Regions from separate parts of the Homo sapiens genome. Here region 1 is linked to region 2. The links are contacts of gene promoters, found by promoter capture Hi-C in blood cells and fetal thymus (Javierre and others, 2016). All regions are on one chromosome and are shown on one strand. The core of a region is centred on a gene start or on the middle of the fragment in contact, and the rest is flanking DNA. Distances in the headings are between cores, read along the strand shown. Region 1 holds the start of KRTAP9-3 (keratin associated protein 9-3). Region 2 holds the start of KRT25 (keratin 25).

Evidence for each region. The method cuts DNA at HindIII sites, captures the fragments that hold promoters and counts their contacts. A CHiCAGO score of 5 or more calls a contact.
Region 1: a contact is called between a fragment that was not itself captured here and the fragment with the promoter of KRT25 in region 2, in 1 of 17 cell types (M1 macrophages). The highest score is 5.8, in M1 macrophages.

The regions. Positions count from the first base shown.
Region 1 is chr17:41,231,144-41,233,843 of GRCh38, reverse strand. KRTAP9-3 (keratin associated protein 9-3) reads right to left here and starts at 1,395. Exons shown (of 1, transcript NM_031962.3): 1 at 390-1,395. The coding sequence starts at 1,342. The coding sequence ends at 863. The HindIII fragment of the contact is 5,484 bases long and covers 1-2,700 here.
Region 2 is chr17:40,754,050-40,756,749 of GRCh38, reverse strand. It overlaps KRT25 (keratin 25), which reads left to right and starts at 1,419. Exons shown (of 8, transcript NM_181534.4): 1 at 1,419-1,907; 2 at 2,282-2,364. The coding sequence starts at 1,479. The HindIII fragment of the contact is 3,727 bases long and covers 1-2,609 here.

The DNA of each region.
Region 1 (2,700 bases), core at 13-2,512, 480 kb before region 2:
CAGCCTTTGCTCACTGAGGTGTGGGGAACTACTTTGGGATTTTTTTGTGTGTGAACAAAAGTGTTATCTGCAAATATGTCAGATTATTCCTCTCATTGTTAAATAAACTCAAGTACATGTCTTGCTAGTGCTGACTTCCAGTGTCTTTTCTACTATATTGGGAGTTAAACGTAAGTGTCCTTGGGCAGAAAGAGAGGACCTCACCTTTGACCAGAGTCTGCCCTTTACTAGCTACATAACATCACACATTAAATTGTTCTCAGCTGAAAAAATGGAGTTAATAATACACGACCATCTGTTTTGAGAATCAAATTGGATAATACCTATGGTATGTGATATGTGTGTAAATCCCATATCAGGAATGCTTTCAAATAAAACAAAACACTATATGAGATGAAGATGGTTCAGAGTTTATTCAGAAACATATAGGTAAGAATCTCTGCTACCAGAGACATAACCCAAAGTTATCGTGAAAAGAAGAAAGAAGGATACAAGAACCATGAGAAGGATATTTAAAATGAAAATATAATTGCAAAGATGATTGATCAGTTGCAGAAACCTAAATTCCTTAGAAGCAAAGAATGAAGCTCTTGATTTTTGAGACAAAGCTGAGATCATGACTCCAAATTAAGAACAGACGAAGCTGGCACATGATCCACAAGGTGTAAGGAAAGAGGGAATGAGGATGAAGTATTCTGCCCTCCCTCAAGCAGATTCCCAAGATTTTAAACATGTAGAGAATTCATAAAAATTTGGGTGAGAGCATGGTGGCTGTCAGCAGCAAAGTAAATTAGTCCCTCAAAAGACAAGTCAGTTGAGCTGAAGGTTGTTGTGTGAGGATGGTAGTTCTCTTGGGAGTTGATTAGCAGCAAGAAGGCTGGCAGCAGCTGTACACACAGGTGGGCTGGAAACAAGTGGTCCTGCAGCAGGTGGTCTCACAGCAGGCTGGGCGGCAGCAGGGCTGGCAGCAGTTGGAGCCACAGCTCTGGTTTAGGCAACCAGGCAGACAAACACTTGTGGGGTGGTAGCAGGTTCTTCTGCAGTACACAGGTGCACAGGAGCTGCTCTGACCACAGCTGGACCCACAGCATGTGGGCTGGCAGCAGGGTGTGCTACAGCAGGAAGGCTGGCAGCAGCTGGTCACACAGATGGGCTGGCAGCAGGTGGTCCTACAGCAGGTGTTTTGACAGCAAGTTGGGTGGCAGCAAGGCTGGCAGCAGCTGGAAACACAGCAGGAGGGCTGACAGCAGGGTGTGCTGCTGCAGGTGGTCACAGTGGTGGGCTGCCAGCAGGTGGTCCTGCAGCAGGTAGGCTGACAGCAAGGGGAGCAACAGTGGGTCATGGTGTCAGGGATGGAGGGTGGGCTTCTGTTAAGAGGTGAGTTTCCCAAAATCTGATGACCCCTTGCAATCTGGACCTTTTATACACCTGGCCTCCAAAGTTTCCACCAATCAGCAGGACTTTTCCTTGTTGCTGTTTACATTGTTTTCCACAGTCCATTTGGGATTGTCAAAGGGGAAGTTGTTACTGAAATCTTATGAACCTTTTAAACTAAGGGTTTAATCTGTTTCTTAATTGTGAGTTACTCATAGAAAGTTTGTTTCAGATAAAAGGAAGCCCGTCTCATCATCAGCATCATTCCTGCTCTGACCATCATCTGGTCATGTGACAGTTCCTGTTGATCCGGGGGGCTCAGGAAGTTCTCTCTGGCCAGCCTCATGTTTGGCTGTATATAGACTTGGAAGTGTCTGTGGGGAGAAGCATGATGCTGATATATTTACAGTGACAAAATGAATCCATGCCTGGGCCCAAGACTATTCACCCACCAAATTCTGACTCAAGACTAACAGGCATCTCTTTGTGCCACCCACATCATCTGTGTCTTTCAGTTCTTTGAATGTCACTTGGGAAGACGGTGACTGCACAGTGTGTTCCATGCGACAGAGCAGATCGAGAACAGGTGGATGCAGAGAAATCTGCTGAGATTTAGACAGCATCAAGCAATGTATGCCCTAGGACGACCATTCATTCTGACTTGTCTGGGAGTGTGGGGATTTCCGGGATGAGAATGGAGGACTTTCTATCACGTAACTTCTTGAGATTCAGGCCAACCAGCATGTGCTCTGGCTCTAGCCCTAAACCTAGTTACTAGCAGTAACTAGAAGTAAGCGTTGAAATTCAGGCCAACCAGCATGTGCTGTGGCTCTAGCCCTAAACCTAGTTACTAGCAGTAACTAGAAGAAGAAGTAAGTAGAAGTAATTTCTTCTATTTCTTTTCAATGAAGGGATTAGATGAGTTGAGATGACACCTGATTCATCGTGGAGTTCTAACATGTTGAAAACATTGTCTAGGTATATCATTCACTTGAGAAGAATGCAAATTATTAATTTCCAACCTGATATAGTATTACATTGTAAATACATCTATGTCCCCATTACCAGGTTAGGAAATAGAAATTAATGCCATTCTCTCCCAATTATATCCGCTTACTCATTTCCAAACAGCTAATCACTCTATCAAGTTATAATCCAGTAGATGACTTTGGCTTTTTAAAATTTCCATGTGAATAAAAATTATAGTATTTGCTTCTCTGTTTCTTTGTTATAATCAAAAGGAATCGTTATCGCCTAGTCATTTTGGACTCTTCCCGTCAGCAGAGCAGCAGACAGAGAAAGGAGTTACTATTTGGTGAGGGGTAA
Region 2 (2,700 bases), core at 170-2,669:
GTTTATGAAAAGGTGCTCAACATCACTAATCATCAGGGAAGTGCACTAGGGAAATTTTGGTCAAAGAATACAAAATTTCATTTAGGTGGGAAGAATAAGTTCAGGATAACTATTGTACAATATGGTGACTATAGTTAATAACAATAAGAAAGTAGATTTTAAATGTTCTTACCACAAAATAGGTATGTGAGGTAATAGATATGTTAATTAGCTTGATTTGGTCATTACACAATATATTCATATATCAAAAAATCATGTCGTGCACCATAAATATATACAATTTTTATTTCTCATTTTTTTTTTTTTGAGGCAGAGTCTCATTCTGTCACTCTGGCTGGAGTGCAGTGACACAATCTTAGCTCACTGTAACCTCTGCCTCCCAGGTTCAATTGATTCTCTTGCCTCAGCCTCCCGAGTAGCTGGGATTACAGGCACCTCGCCATGATGCCTGGCTAATTTTTGTATTTTTAGTAGAGATGGGGTTTCACCATGTTGGTGAGGCTGGTCTCAAATGCCTGACCTCAAGTGATCCACCTGCCTCAGCCTCCCAAAGTGCTAGGATTACAGGCGTAAGCCACTGTGCCTGGCCTTATTTGTCAATTTTTTATATTTCCATAATAGGTAGAGTTTTCAGTAAATATATGTGAATTCCCACCGACTAAATACCTTACTGATGACTTTCATCTGAGCTAAACCACAATAAATTAAGACAGAAAAAATAGTTCCTACCAGGTTTGCTTCAGATTTTGCAGGGTCAGGAAATAAGTTAATGTCTTTCCAAACTCCCACAAAACATAACACCAATTAGGGGTGTGCTCCTAATTACCAAAATGGATAAGGTAAGACAACTCTCCTCAGTCATAAGTGTCAACAGAATATGATGCTCATGTCAGCCAGAATGGAAGTTAACTTCCCATGGGAAAGAGTGGCAAGAGGAATTTAAAAATAAAAACAAAAACCTATTGGTTGAAGAACCAGGTTGGGGAAATGATTACAGTTCTATTCTCTACTTATGTGGAAAAACTTGTGAAAATAAAAGCAGAAAAAGCCTCAGAAACATCACAATCTGCCTTGGCATAATAGCCCAAAACCATGATGCTAAATTTCTATCCTGTAATGAGCTGATGAGGTTTACTTCCAAGGATGGAAGTGAAGAATGACTCACTCAGCATTTAAAAACGTAATAATGAACCTGACATTGCTCCACCCAGACCCATTTCTCAGATAACCACCAACCTGAGGGCAACTGCCCTCCTACAGGAATGAGCCCAGCAAAGTGAGTTACTAATTAGAAAAAATCACCCAATTATGCCAACTTGCTGAGACTGGCAAGCCATGTTTTACTCTGTGTAGGCAGAATTTCATTCAGAACACACTTGGGACTTGCCTATAAAAAGGCAAACCAAACCTTTTAGACAAGAAGGCACTCCATTCTGGCTTTCACAAATACAGCTCTGCAACGCGTTTGCCCTGATACCATGTCTCTTCGACTTTCCAGTGCATCCAGGAGGTCCTGTCCTCGTCCCACCACTGGATCACTCAGACTCTATGGTGGGGGAACCAGCTTTGGTACTGGAAATTCTTGTGGCATTTCAGGGATTGGAAGTGGCTTCTCTAGTGCCTTCGGAGGCAGCTCATCGGGAGGAAACACAGGGGGAGGTAATCCCTGTGCTGGCTTCACTGTGAATGAGCGGGGGCTCCTTTCTGGCAATGAGAAGGTGACCATGCAGAACCTCAATGACCGCCTGGCATCCTACCTGGACAGTGTGCATGCTCTGGAGGAGGCCAACGCTGACCTGGAGCAGAAGATCAAGGGCTGGTATGAGAAATTTGGGCCTGGCTCTTGCCGTGGTCTTGATCATGACTATAGCAGATATTTCCCAATAATTGATGACCTTAAAAATCAGGTAAGAAATCATACTGCACAATCATTTTCATGTACCTTTATTTCTAAATTTTGTTTTCCTTTCTTTATTAAATTCTAAAAACATTTATCATTCCTACTTGTGATTTTTTTTTTTTTTTTTTTTTGAGAAGGAGTTTTGCTCTTGTTGCCCAGGCTGGAGTGCAACCGTGGGATCTTGGCTCACTGCAACCTCCACCTCCTGGGTTCAAGAGATTCTCCTGCCTCAGCCTCCCAAGTAGCTGGGATTACAGGTGCCTGCCACCATGCCCTCCTACTTGTGATTTCTTAAAGAGAATTCCAATTTAGCATTAGAAATAAGCATTAAGTAGATTCAGTTGGTTTACTTCATGATAAAAGTCAAATTCCCATTTCTAGATCATCGCATCCACCACCAGCAATGCTAATGCTGTTCTGCAGATCGATAATGCCAGGCTTACAGCTGATGATTTCAGACTCAAGTAAGTAGACTGCCAGAGTGAAATGAATTCATGGCAATTCATGCAACGCATTACATCAAATTTAGCAACTCTTATTCCAAAATTATAAAACACTTGAATTTCACATAAACAGGATGTTATTACTTTTTTATGCTTTGACTATTAAATACAAAGCATGAACTGCTATTAAAACTAGCGCCCAATACCCTAGTTCTTTTTCTGTCAAATACTGCAAAGTAGAAACAATAATTATTATACAACAAGCTTTGAAAATGCCTCTTGTGGCCAAATCTTCAAAATTCCAGAATGCTAGCATTTGTCATTGATCAGTGACTAGTGACTATGTCTCCAACCATG